5 separate regions of the Homo sapiens genome follow, and regions 1, 2, 3 and 4 are each linked to region 5. Evidence: promoter capture Hi-C in 16 types of primary human blood cells and fetal thymus (Javierre and others, 2016). All regions are on one chromosome and are shown on one strand. The core of a region is centred on a gene start or on the middle of the fragment in contact, and the rest is flanking DNA. Distances in the headings are between cores, read along the strand shown.

What was found. Contacts are between HindIII fragments. The CHiCAGO score rates a contact against its expected background, and 5 or more counts as called.
Region 1: a contact is called between a fragment that was not itself captured here and the fragment with the promoter of PPP4R3A in region 5, in 2 of 17 cell types (megakaryocytes and M1 macrophages). The highest score is 6.2, in megakaryocytes.
Region 2: a contact is called between a fragment that was not itself captured here and the fragment with the promoter of PPP4R3A in region 5, in 1 of 17 cell types (naive CD4 T cells). The highest score is 5.0, in naive CD4 T cells.
Region 3: a contact is called between a fragment that was not itself captured here and the fragment with the promoter of PPP4R3A in region 5, in 13 of 17 cell types (megakaryocytes, M1 macrophages, M2 macrophages and 10 more). The highest score is 11.6, in megakaryocytes.
Region 4: a fragment that was not itself captured here is called in contact with the fragment with the promoter of PPP4R3A in region 5 in 11 of 17 cell types (M2 macrophages, erythroblasts, M1 macrophages and 8 more); the score reaches 7.2 in M2 macrophages.

Annotation. Positions count from the first base shown.
Region 1 is chr14:91,920,639-91,923,338 of GRCh38, reverse strand. All of the region lies in intron 4 of FBLN5 (fibulin 5), which reads left to right. Among named protein-coding and RNA genes, the nearest start is that of FBLN5, 26 kb to the left of the region's middle. The HindIII fragment of the contact is 3,943 bases long and covers 1-2,700 here.
Region 2 is chr14:91,782,290-91,784,989 of GRCh38, reverse strand. TC2N (tandem C2 domains, nuclear) reads left to right here. Exons shown (of 12, transcript NM_001128596.3): 12 at 1,780-2,700. The coding sequence ends at 1,890. Among named protein-coding and RNA genes, the nearest start is that of CATSPERB, 52 kb to the right of the region's middle. The HindIII fragment of the contact is 1,728 bases long and covers 499-2,226 here.
Region 3 is chr14:91,990,092-91,992,969 of GRCh38, reverse strand. The region is part of intron 15 of TRIP11 (thyroid hormone receptor interactor 11); the gene reads left to right. Among named protein-coding and RNA genes, the nearest start is that of FBLN5, 44 kb to the right of the region's middle. The HindIII fragment of the contact is 2,316 bases long and covers 345-2,660 here.
Region 4 is chr14:91,970,702-91,973,401 of GRCh38, reverse strand. TRIP11 (thyroid hormone receptor interactor 11) reads left to right here. Exons shown (of 21, transcript NM_004239.4): 20 at 541-685. Among named protein-coding and RNA genes, the nearest start is that of FBLN5, 24 kb to the right of the region's middle. The HindIII fragment of the contact is 1,392 bases long and covers 609-2,000 here.
Region 5 is chr14:91,508,910-91,511,609 of GRCh38, reverse strand. It overlaps PPP4R3A (protein phosphatase 4 regulatory subunit 3A), which reads left to right and starts at 1,300. Exons shown (of 15, transcript NM_001366432.2): 1 at 1,300-2,104. The coding sequence starts at 1,963. RefSeq lists silencers at 1,041-1,240, 1,821-1,920, 1,931-1,990, 2,241-2,290 and enhancers at 1,301-1,580, 1,398-2,048, 2,049-2,700. The HindIII fragment of the contact is 5,922 bases long and covers 1-2,620 here.

The sequences.
Region 1 (2,700 bases), core at 166-2,665, 410 kb before region 5:
GCCTTGAATTCCATGCAGTTGACTTGGGCTTTATTCTGTGAACACTGGTTTTTGAGCAGGGGAGTGAAATGTTTACAAGCCTATTTGGAGATTTCTGCTTAGCCTAGTCTTAGCACTGCCACAAGCTCATTGGGTGGTTGTGCTCCAGTTCCTTCTCTTTCTGGGGCTTCAGTTCACATCTGCATGAGAGGGGCTGGGCCATTATCTGTGAGGCTTCCTCCAGCCTTGACCACTCAGGATGCAAAGATGCTTATGACAACCAGGTGAAGGGTGGCTTCTGGAGACAGGCAGCTTTCGGAGATGGTATCTTCTCATTTGAGGCATTGATTTTGCATGTAGTCTAAGCTGTAGGGGCTAATTACTGGGTCACCTCATAATTACATCACCTCCATGTTCTCAGGGTCCTGGTCAAAGTCTCCTTTAGGCTTAAAACAGGGATGAGCCCTCTGCCGAGACCCCTGAAAAAGGGGCATCAGTGGATGGATGAAATTGGCTCTCACTGTGATGATAGGGCCTGGCCTGGTCCTGTGAGAAATCTGACACTGCCTTTATAATTCCTGGGGGAAGTTTGCAAGCAGCTGGAGCAAAACACAAGCTCCTTAGGAAGCCAAGAATCCTCCCAGATTGACCAACAAGGTAGAGATGTAAGCGATCCCACCATCAGACGTCTCTGGAAAATCCCACCTCAGACCTCAGACCTCCTCAACAGATCCTTTTTCCAGGATTGTCTCAATCTCATTTCTCTCCAGAGAGCAGACAGTGGCTGGGGGCCAGGTGGCACTGGCCTGTGGTCTGTTGTGGTCTCCACTTCTCCCCATGGAGGCTGGGTCCTGCGGTTACTGCCATGAGTCCTTTCATTGTAGTAATTCCCACTGGAACACTGCTTCTCGCTTTTCCAAATGCTTTCGTGTCCACCAGCTCATGGAATTCTCAAAATAGCCCAGGGAGGAAGGCAGGCCTAGGAATGTTCTTCCCTTCATTTTATTTATTTATTTATTTATTTATTTATTTATTTATTTATTTACTTTATTATTATTATTATTTTTGAGACAGAGTCTTGCTCTGTCACCCAGGCTGGAGTGCAGTGGTGCGATCTCGGCTCACTGCAATTTCCGCCTCCTGGGTTCAAGCGATTCTCATGCCTCAGCCTCCTGAGTAACTGGGATTACAGGCACCTGCCACCAGGCCCAGCTAATTTTTGTATTTTTAGTAGAAATGGGGTTTTGCCATGTTGGCCGTGTTCAAATTCCTGACCTCAGGTGATCCGCCCGCCTTGGCCTCCCAAAGTGCTGGGACTACAGGCCACCGCGCCTGTCTGCCCCTTCATTTTAGAGAATATGTGGAAGGGCTCCATGACTGTCCCACATCCCAGAGTTTGCTTGTGATTTAGGCTGACCAGCATGTGGGCCCGCCAGCTTTAGGCCCTTTTAGGCCATCCCACGACGTGCCCTGGTTGGTCATAGGCACCATGCCAGCTCCTTTCTCTACCCCAAATATACCAGGCCCTTCTGGACCTCAGGGCCTTCACACTTTCTCTTCCTTCTATTTGGAACTCTCTCCTGGCTCTTCACATTGCGGGCTCATTCTCCTCTCTGGCTTCAGCTCAGTTCAGATGGCACCCCTTAGAGAGTCCTACTCAGGCTGCCTTGTCTGAAATTACACCGCAGTTACTCCCAATCACAGCCTTATCATTTTCCAGCACAGTCTTCAGCGTGCATTAAATCCACCGGAGGCCTTCAAACACAGATTGCTGCCGAGTTTCTGACTCAGTAGGTCTGGGGTGGGGTCTTTTCTTCTGAGTGATGCTGACGCTGCTGGCCCGGGGGCTGCACTTTGAGAGCCACTGATTGGTGGCTTTTTATGTATTTGTTTGTTGATTTTCCCATCCCTTAGCTGTAAACTTCAAGAGGGGAAGAAACGTTGCCTTGTAACCTGCTGCATCCCCACTGCCTGGCCCATAGTTGGTGCTTGCTAAGTACCTGTTAGCTGGCTATTGGCTGAAGGCTCAGCTGGAACCTCTTGCTTCATAATCAATCGTCTTGCACCTGAGAGGGAAGAAGGACAAGCATTGGCAGAAACTCTGGGAGCTACTTGGTCTCAGCTCTTCTCTGCTTTACTACCTTTTTCTTTAACTTTTTCATGCTTGAGCCTTTTCTAAGGGTCATTATTAATTTTGGGTAAAGATTACATGGATAATTTTCATAAAATCCCAGGTGACGGATTTTACTTTCTGGGTTCAGAATTCCAACGAAGCCGCAGGACATCTGGGTAAGAGAATTAAAATGTCGTGACTGGCTTGCATAGAACACCTCGTAGAATTCCCAATGTGGTACTTTCAGAACCCTCTGTGTCTCAGGCCTACTAGCCTTTGGCTTCAGAAGAACAAAGTTGAAATTTTGCCAGATTGGAGTTGGGTTTTAACCATGAAATGTTATCTATCTTCCCTGACAAAGAGGAGTTGAAGACCAGTTCTAATGATAGATCCCCTGAAGATATTGCTTTGGCCAAGGGAGTGCTGAGGGTAGGCTTGGGCTGACCTGGTCCATACTTCGTGCTACCATTGGGGGCCACAGGCAATGGAGTATGTGGGTTGGAGGCTTGCCAGGAGGAGGGTTGGCAACTCCTGCATAAACCACCACAAGGCTGCTATGGACTGAGAATCGTGGGAACAGCTGATTCTGCCCAAGGGGGTTGAGGAAG
Region 2 (2,700 bases), core at 113-2,612, 270 kb before region 5:
AATAGTTGGAATTTCTGAGCAATCAGGTTTATCTTTAAATATGTTTTTTTCTGAGCTTTTTTACTTCAAAAACGATGAGAATTATCAATTTTTCAGTACTACTGACTTGTTCCTTGTGGAAGGAGGGAACATTAAGTATTTAAATCAATTTCTTAAGTCTTCGAGTATCAAATTTATTTTGTTTAATCTTTGATTTAATGTTTAACATGGGCACTTTTTATATTCTCTTACCTGAGTTAGTTTTGAATTCCTAGAACATGTCCATTTTAACAGTGGTTGTGATATTATTTAGTTAATACTACTGTCTGGATTATTTTAAAATCTTGGTACAATTTGTATAAAACAACATAACACTTGTTAACTTGCCAGTCCTCTAGGAACTTGTTTCCTTTCCTTACTCTGAATAGACTAGTGGTAGCTGTCCATTATCTTTTACCTTAATTACGATTGTTTGAACCACATTTAAATTCCAAAATCTATATTATTGGTTTAAAAGCTTCAACTTGACAAGATATTATTAACAGTCTACATGAAATCCTCAAATTATATATGAATTTTCAAACATTGATATCAGCTCCTTGATTTACTTTTTAATATATATTTTTACGTAAAATACTAATTAAAATGTTGTTTTATCATTTATTATTTGGAAAAGAGCTTGAATTTAAGAATTCATATAACCAGCATAATTTTGAAGACCATTAAGCCTTTATGAAGTCAATTCAGTTAAAGTTTTCGTATATCATCGAGCCTCAACTTAACGGTATGAATGGAATAGGAAATTTACTTGAGATGATTTTCATGATAACATTTGTGGTGATTCCATTCTCTTGGCTAAGATTCTAGTTAGAATAATAATTCTGGAAAGGTTCTTGCTGGTCATCTGCTCCGTATGGCTTATCTGGTATAGCCTTAGGAGGAACTATGATGGGGTAGCCAAAGGGGAACTCAAGGTCTTCCACCCCTGTATCAACGAAAGTACTCTAATGTCTGTTTTACATACTGGGATTATTTGTAAGATTTCATTTGAAAGGAAGGTTCTTTAGACCAAGAAAGAAAAGGAAAAAGGTTGAAACCAATGACCTGCTCCAATCTCTTAGAAACTGAATCTCAGAGAAGTTAACTTCAAGGTAAAAGCATTTGTTAGTGCTAGAGGTAAGATGAAAATTCAAGTTTTTTTATTCCTTGTCTTCATAATAATATAATTATTGTGATGTCTTTTGTACAATTTGCATAATACTATGTATACATTCACATGTAGTATTTAAGTTACATAAGTGATGGGTACTATGAAATTACTATTGATCAAGAATGACTATTAGATTTTAATTAAGATTACACTTTATTTCTTGTAAAAGGTGATTTAAAATGCACATTCCTTACCAATCTAATTTGAATCATGATTAGCCTCAGTTTAATTATCCTTACAAAAATATTTTTGAGTGGTTGGGATCAGTTTTAAGTTGAGCTCCTAGATTTGTTGAATAGGAAAGGATACTAATAACTGTTCTAGGGGAAATGATTTTGTAATATTTCACCTTGAATTTTTGAACTGAACCTTATAAACTAGTCTTCAGAATGACTAAGCAGGTTAAATGTTTTAGCATTTAAATGTCAAATAGAGAAATCAATCTGACTTTTGGAAAAAAGAAAGATGTTTAATTTAAAATATGTAAAGCAAACTTCCAAATTTCTTCCATCAGTAAGAGTAACTAACTGTCTGAATGTAGTTATTATTATTGTGTCAAGTTAAATGATTGTACATACTTTCCTTTACAGATTTGGATAAGTGAAGACAGTAATAACATTGAAGCAGTGAACCAGTGGAAAGAGACAGTAATAAATCCAGAAAAGGTTGTTATCAGGTGGCACAAATTAAATCCATCTTGAAGACTTCACACATTAATTTGGTGAAGAACTTGACATTCTTTTAGAAGACTTATGATTTCAATTTGCTACCAATGAGAAGAGGCAAATCAACAAATTTGTCAATTTATGGGGGCTATAATTATGGTATATAATGTATCTGATAGAAAATTTGATAAGAAAATGTAATGAATTTTATCAGATATCCAAAGTAAAGGAAATGTTTTAAAACTGCAACAAGAGACACAGACAGTAAAATCAAAGTATTATTAGGATGACTAAATAAATTATAAAGTCTGTGAGAATATCAACCATAGATAGTTCTTTCTATATTATGTTTTCGCTTTTGTATTTTAAGCTTTACTTAGATATTCAAAACCTGGTATATCAAGTCTCTGTTAGTACTATTGGCATTTAGAAGACTTTACCATTATTTCAGTGCTAGGCATTATTGATTAGGTCTTGGCTCCACTGTTTACCTCTTGCTATGTATTTTCTCCCGGTAAAAATGAATTGAACCATTTCAACTATTTTCTATATTTGGAGAAAGTTTGTGCCCTGTGTTTTATAATTTTTTTACCCATAAGACATCACATTATCCCTTTGTAAGCTACTTATCTCCAAAAAACTTCAGAAATAGAAAACTACATTTTGGCAGGAATAATTGAAAACACCAGAAGGTTGAAGTTTAATTGGAAACCCAGAATATACATACTTTGCTGTTTTCTTCCCTCAAATATTTTACTATTTGTTTTATTTGGAGTTAAAATAAGAGTATCATCCATATGGTCCATCCTAATTCACAGAATTAAATGAGCTTAAATAGAAAATTCA
Region 3 (2,878 bases), core at 253-2,752, 480 kb before region 5:
CGTGCTTTTAGATTTAGGAGAAACTTGTCTTTTTTTTTTTTTTTTTTTTTTTTTTTTTTTTGAGACGGAGTCTCGCTCTGTTGCCCATGCTGGAGTGCAGTAGCGCGATCTCGGCTCACTGCAAACTCCCCCTCCTGGGTTCACGCCTTTCTCCTGCCTCAGCCTTCCAAGTAGCTGGGACTACAGGTGCCCGCCACCACACCCGGCTAATTTTTTGTATTTTTAGTAGAGACGAGGTTTCACCATGTTAGCCAGGATAGTCTCGATCTCCTGACCTCGTGATCCGCCCGCCTTGGCCTCCCAAAGTGCTGGGATTACCCACCATGCCCGGCCTAGGAGAAGCTTTTCTATGTCATAAATAGACTGTCAATAACTGGTAGAAAATGATAAAATTCATTTACCTGACATTAGTGGAGGTAATTATGCTGTTCTTCAGGAACATTAACGTCCCAAGTAAGTGAAGATATACTTCCTAATAAAGTTTTAACATTTTAATTAAGTATTAAATGGCTGCAAAACAATTTAGATAATATGTATAAAATATAAGACTAACAATGCAGCAAATACCCACACTGTCACCACCCAGTGTAAGAAATAAAACTTCATCCTTTGAAGTTCCTTATGCACCCCTTCACATCCCATTCTCATCTTCCACCTCTTAGGCAACCACTATTCCAAAATGTTATGTTTATTACTTCCTTATTTTGTTTGGTTTTCTTTTTTCTTTTTCTGCTTGTTTTCTTTATGGTTCTTATCACATAGGTTTGACGCTCCAAACAATCCATTGTTTGGTTTTGCATATTTTTGAAGTCTATGTAAATGGAATTTGAACTATATGTAAATTCAGTAATTTTTCTGAGACTTGCTTTTTTTTTTTTTTTTTTTTTTTTGAGACGGCGTTTCGCTCTTTGCTCAGGCTGGAGTGCAAGGGCGTGATCTCAGCTCACTACAACCTTTGCCCTGGGTTCAAGTGATTCTCCTGCCTCAGCCTCCCAAGTAGCTGAGATTACAGGCACACACCATCACGCCTGGCTAATTTTTGTATTTTTAGTAGAGACAGGGTTTCACCATGTTGGCCAGGCTGTTGTTGAACTCCTGACTTCAGGTGATCCATCCACATCAGCCTCCCAAAGTGCTGGGATTACAGGCGTGAGCCACCGCACCCGGCTGAGACTTGCTTTTTTAAAAAACTTACCATAGTGTTTATGAGATTCAGTCATATTACTGTGTGTTACTGTATATAGGCGATTTGTTATTTTCACTTCTGTATGCATTGCATTAATATATAATTTACCCATTTTATTAATAAAGGGTATTTCAGATATCTTCTAAACATACAAGAGTTTTTTTAGATGTATATCTTGATTGGAATTGCTGAGTTATAGGACATATATGGTCAACTTCAGCTTTATTAGATGATTAATTGTTTTCTGAAGTGGTTGTGCTAATTTACTCCCACTAGCAGGCACATGACTTCTTGTTCTACATCCTTGTCAACACTTGACATTATCAGACTTTCAAAGTTTTTGACAATCTGATGGGTAGGAAGTGTCTTAGTCCATTTTGTGCTGATACAATAGAATACCACAGACTGGTTTATTTATAATGAACAGAAACTTAGTAGCTCATGGGTTCTGGAAGCTGGGAAATCCAAGATTAAGGTGCCAGCAACTGGTAAACCTCCTTGCTACATCATCCTGTGGCAAAGAGAGGGTAAGGTGAGAGAACAAGAGGGAGCCAAACTCCTCCTCTTGCAAGGAACCTACTTCCTTGATTATGAACCCACTCCCACAATAAGGACATTAATCTATTCATGAGGGTGGTGCCCCCATGAACCAAACACCTCCCATCAGGCCCTACCTCCCAATACTGCCACATTGGGAATCAGGTTTTCAGCAAATGAACTTGTGGGTATACATTCAAGCCATAGCAGAAGGGCTGTCTTCCTGTGGTTTTAATTTGCACTTCCCTAATTACCAGTGAGGTCAAGCATCTTTTAATATGTTTATTGACCATTTATACTTACTTTCTTGTCAGCTCATTAATACATTTAAAAGATGTATTTTATCTAATACTCTTAGTGGTTTCTAGTGGATCCAGAGTATACAGTCTGTGGAACTGCTAGAATGGAAGTCCAGATCTTCTTCTCTTTTTTCTTAGAGACAGAGTCTTGCTTTGTTGTCCAGGCTGGTCTCAAACTCCTGGGCTCAAACAGTCCTCCTGTCTTGACCTCACAAAATGTTGGAATTACAGGCGTGAGCCTCTATGCCTGGCATTTTTTTCTTATTTTAATTAGAGATGAAATCTTGCTATGTTTCCCAGGCTGGAATGCAGTGGCTCTTCACCAGTGTGATCATAATAGTGCACTACAGCCTTGCATTTCTGGACTCAAGCAATCCTCCTGCCTCAGCCTTTTGACTAGCTGGGACTATAGGCATGTGTCACAGCACCCAGCCAAATCTTCTTTTAAAACTAGTTTTATTTTTTAAAATTTAAAGTGTAATATACATTTAAAAGAAGAACAAAATAAATGAGAAGAAATTGAGGGAATTAATAAAAATAAAAGCTGTAATTAATGAAATAAAAACCAAACAACTGGTAGAAAGAATAACAAAATCTAAATGCTGATTTTGGAAAAAATCTAAGCGTAGATTTAAGCTTTAATAACTTCATAAGTACAAATGGTGTGGGTTAAAAAAATCATTTGAAAGTTTACATTTCCTTCACACTAAATTTAGTTTTGTGGATTTTTGAATAGTAAATATTTTATTTAAAATTTTCAATTTCATTCCCTCTATATATCAATCAGGTTTCAGCCCCTAAAAGCAGGATCAGTAGGGTGTGTATGTATATGTGTCAAATTTATATATTGATATAT
Region 4 (2,700 bases), core at 55-2,554, 460 kb before region 5:
GAGTGTTACCATCAGACTATTGATTAAATTGTTAAATTTTTGTAATGATGATCATCTATCTAAAGTGCTAGTATTTTAGGCCAGGTGTGGTGGCTCACGCCTGTAATCCCCGCACTTTGGGAGGCCGAGGTGGGCGGATCACAGGGTCAGGAGTTTGAGACCAGCCTAACCAACATGGTGAAACCCCGTCTCTGCTAAAAATGCAAAAATTAGCCGGGCGTGGTGGCGTGCACCTGTAATCCTAGCTACTTAGATGGCTGAGGCAGGAGAATCACTTGAACCTGGGAGGCGGAGGTTGCAGTGAGCCGAGATAGTGCCATTGCACTCCAGCCTGGGCGACAGAGCAAGACACCGTCTCAAAAAAAAAAAAAAAAAAGTGCCAGTATTTTCAATTGTTCATAAAGCTGATTTGTAAAAAAAAATTATTCAAGTGGCATGATTAATTTTTAATATTTAATTAGAAAAGCTGGTACATTTCCTTAGTTGTAGTGAATATAACTTAATTATCTAGCCTAATATAACCAAAATATTTTTTCTTAGTCTTTTTCAGAACTTTTTGTTAAATTTCTAGAAACAGAATCTCATCCATCCATTCCACCACCAAAGCTTTCTGTTCATGATATGAAACCTCTGGATTCACCAGGAAGAAGAAAAAGAGATACAAATGCACCAGAAAGTTTTAAAGGTAAAACTAGAGATTTAATTTTTCTATAATTTGAAAATTGAATGTTTAATGTATGATTATGTTTCACAGTGATATTAACTAAATTTTTAGTATTTTTGGAAATGTGTAATCAGGACTTCCAGAATTCCAATAAGGCATCAGGCTTTTCCAATAAGGCATCAGGCTTTTGCTTCATATATTCTTGTAGCAATCTGATATTTAATTGACTTAGATTAATTTAAATGGTAAGAAATATATTCCCTTTGTATATCAGAATAATTCTTCTCTGTCTGCCTAACCAGCTATGAATTATTCCTCTGGAAGTGATGGGGAATTGGTTACATCTTTCTTGGCCACCTGCTTTGCTTTCTCACTAATGGTGGTTCTTGCTAATCCGAGTTAGATGTGTAGTTTATAGTTTGAGAAGGGTTTTTCTCCTTTGAAAATTTAAGTGCTACACTCAGTAACCAAACATTGGCATGTTAATATATATAAGCGCAGTTTAACAAACTGACTTGAGACTCCAAGAATGTAGAAAGCACTCTTTTATGTTGAAAGATCTGCCTAGAGCGGACGGTTGGTGGTGGTTAACGTGTACATATTTTTCTGTCTCACTAAATTGTAAGGGTTTTATTTATGTTCATATCATATATACTGGCACGCAAGAAAATTTATCAATTGAAATTGAATTATAATCTGTTGGACTATAAACAAATTCTTTATTGGAAGAGCTCTTCTGAAATCTTCATATTTTAATAGACTAATATGTTTACTAATTGGACTGTAAAGGTATATGTTATATACTCATATCACACATCAGATGCTTAAATTTGGATAAAATAATAAAGAATTTATATTCTGAAATTTTTGAAACTTCTGTCGTTTAGACAAATATTTCTATTTTTCTGAACTTGTATAGGAAGGGAAAGTAGTAAAATTTATCAGTCCTTTAGGTAGTAAGTAGTTTTGCCTGCTAAATTTTGTGAAAAGTCATAACTTTATCTAAGAGGTGTAGGCTATACTGAAAACAGTTTTTCTTTTACACTAGGTTGTAGCATCTTGAAACAGATTCCCAAATTCATTATGGCAGGCTCTTTCCCTTCCTCTCTTCCCTTCCCCTTCTTTTCCCACCCTTCCTTTCCCTTTTCTTCCCTTCTCCTTCTTTATTCTCCCTCCCTCTCCCTCCTTTCCCCTTCTTTTCTCTCACTTTTCTTCCTCTTTCCTACCTTTCCCCTTTCTTGTATCAAGTCCAGTGCCCAGCCTGATTTGTATTGATAGGATACAAAAGCTGGTGATGGCTTGGGTTGATATAGGCTTTGCATGAACAAAGCAAGCTTAATCTTTAATCTTGAATTTGGAAGTGTGTCAGAGCTCACTAGGTAACACCAGAAGCTTGCCCAGAGTTCGGAAAGTTGTCATTCATAGGAAAGTACGGCTTGGGAACCCTAAGAGTGCTCAATGATAAGCAGATTTGACAAATTTGTCTTAGTGCTTTCTTTGCTTTAGGAGGTCTTTTTTATTTGAGTTTCCCATTGCTGAAGTAGGCACCTTCAAAGGATTGCTTGTCTGTTACCATTGAAGTTGTCAGAGGTCTTGGGCATTAAAGCAGAATCTGTCCACTAAGACATTAGGAATTTACCTATTCCAATAAAAAGGAATTGTATTAGCCCAACTTCATAGAAAAATAATCTAATCAAGATTGTTTTCAAACCTTTGACTGCCTAAAAGATGATCAGGTAAGGTATGTATATATTGTTTTTTCTTCTGGCAAATATTAATTCAACTGTTATCATTGTAATATGGGTTTGTTTTTCTTTATTGTAATTATTTGGGGAGAACGTAACTCCTTAAGCCTTTCATTATTCAGATGGGTAAGTAAAGAGTTTGCCTTGCAACATAGATGACACCATTTAAAAAGCTGTTGTTATGGTAAATGAAGTTCATCAGTTACATAACTGGTATTTAAGTATAAAACAAGAGCTGTAATGTGTTTAATAAGGTATTAGATAAGCATACAAATATTCTTCTCTTGCCTT
Region 5 (2,700 bases), core at 51-2,550:
TGAGCCACTGCACTTCAGGATGGGTGACAGAGAGACCCTGTCTCAAAAAAAATTTTTTTTCAATAAAATCTAAACGTAGATATTTCTGATGAAAATTTAGTATCCCAACAGAGACTTGCTGGAAGGACAAAATATATCACATTTTTAAGACATTGTACGTATATCTCATTAGTAATTTGATTATTGAAATAACTTTTGAAAATACCGCACTAAAACGTTAACACTAATTTCACCAGTTTCTTCGTACTTTTTGTGGCTACTGCAAAATTTAAAGTTATGTGTGTGGCTGCATTATATTCCGAGCGGACAAGCCCGACCTGGCAAGGCCTGGCAAATGGTAAAAGCCACCAAAATGGTGGCATATGAGCTGCATGATAGGAACGAGAATGATATTCCTTTGTGAAGATCAACAATACTTGACATCAAGTAGGTCTTCAAAACACAGGACTACCTAATGCTGAGAATTACTCCTCCCGATTACACAGTGTCGCATTTGTTTTTGTGAGCGCCTTAAGTTCCTTTTCCGACAAGAAAGGCTGGCAGACAGTTCTGATAGGGATGAAGGAATGGAGCACTTGGGGCTTGCCTAGGCTGTAAGGTGAAGTTTTAGAATTGTCACTTGGAACTCGGTCCCACGCCCAGAAATCGCAAACAGTCCCAAGTTTCCACACTGGCCACGCCAGTCCGCGACCCACGGCGGCTCCCAAGGCTGCGCCGACCTAGGCGCCCACACCCGCGACCTTCCCCGGAAGCGTTTCCATTTCATTCCCTCAAGTCCGCAAGGCGCCGGGTGGGTCCCGAGCGCCCGACTCAGCCATAAAGGCGGCCCCGGGAAAACGCTCTCGGAAGCGGGTAGGGGCCCAGGCCCACGCTGCCCGGCGTCCGCAGGCCAGGGGCAGGGGCAGAGGCAGGGACGGGGCAGGAACAAGGGAAGGTGGCGGCGGGCGGAGGCGAGGCCGAAGCGCCGGGGCCCGCGGGCAGAGGCCGCAAACGTATCCACGCCCCTCGTGCATCCTGGAGCGGGGCTGATGACGAACACAGGGCGCGACGGACGCACACACCGCCCAGCGCTCGCACGACGGTGCGTGCAAGGAGGCGGGAGGGAGCCTCGGGCTGTCACCGGCGCAATCTGCGTCCCGCCTCCTCCGCTCCCTGCGCTCCCGCCACCTCGGCAACTCCGCGCCCGCCTCCCGCCTCCGTCGGAAGCCTCCGCCGCAGTAAGGCTCCCGGTCTCGCTGCTGTCTCTTTAAATGGTGGGGCTACGAGCCGCCCCTGCAGCTGCTCCCTGGGTGGCCCCGCGCGCCGCTTTTGAGGGGCGAACCAAGATGGCGGCGGTTTTGGCTGTGTGAGGAAGACGGAAGAGACGGCGGCGGAGGGAAACCGACTTCCACTAGTCCGGGTCGCTTGGGCGGCCGGGGGCCCTCAGAGTCTCCCGGGCAGTGGTAGCAGTTGCAGCAGGATCAGGCGCCTGTCGGCTTCTGACGTTTAAAACAGGGGGAGCGGAAGGGAGCCACTGGCCGCGGTGGCAGGGCCAGGTATAAGGAAGGAAAATATGGCGGCGGCGGCGGCGGCCTGAGGAGGCGGCGGCGGCGCGGGAAGCTGCTTCGCGGAGATCATGGCGGAGGCGGGAGCAGGGCAGTGACGGGAGCCCCGAGTTCCTAGCGCTGCGGGGCGGGAGGCTACGAAGCGCTGCGCGGCCCCCTCGGGGCTGCCGGGCGCCGGGCTCGCCAGGCCTGGACAATAGCGCCGGGGAGCCGGAGGCGAGGAAAGGCGGCGGCCCAGAGCTCGGTCCCTGGAGCGGGCCATGCAGGCGGCGGCGCGGCCCCGCGGCGCCCAGCGGCGGCAGTGAGGCCGGGGAGCCCTCCGCTCGCGGGCGCCCTCACGCCTCGCCCCTCGCCTCTCCAGGGCCCCTTTCCTGGGCGTCTACTGGCGGGGCCCCCGCCCCGGTTCCCGGGCGGCACGATGACCGACACCCGGCGGCGGGTGAAGGTGTACACGCTCAACGAGGACCGGCAGTGGGACGACCGGGGCACCGGGCATGTGTCGTCTGGCTACGTGGAGCGGCTGAAGGGCATGTCCCTGCTTGTCAGGGCTGAGAGCGACGGTAAGTGAAGCCCCGCGCGGCGGGACCCTCGCAGCCCCCACGGCCCTGGGCCGCCTCCCTGGTTCTTGCGGGGCATGGCGCTCGCTCCACGAGAACAGAGGGACGGCTGGGGAGGGCGGCCACCTCGGGGGAGGACGGGCCCCAGGTACCCCAGTCTTGCGGGAGCTCCCCGGAGAGCGCTTGAAATGTTTCCTTTCTCTGAGTGCCTGGTGGCATTTTGGGTACGAGGAGAGCCAAGCGTGTTTGAGCTGTGCCGCCCTGGAGTGTGGAGAGGTCGAGGACCTGAGATAGGGAGTCCGGAGTGTGCTGTTCTTTTGCACTAGAGTGACCTTGAGAAAGACACTGATTAATCCGATCTGCTGCCTTAGTTCACCCATCTGTAAAGCAGGCATGAAACTTTGCTTGGAGCTAAGAAAGTTCTTGGACCTTTCACACTTTGAAGAACGTTTTGCTGTGCTTTTTTTGTTTTTCTTTTTAAACATCTTTTTGCTACATGTTTCTGATCGTGTTGAAGCTTGGCAACACTGTATCTGGCAACTCTACACTAAGAGAAAACGCTTTCCCTTGCGAAGATTTTCGTTCACCAGTGTTGGTTG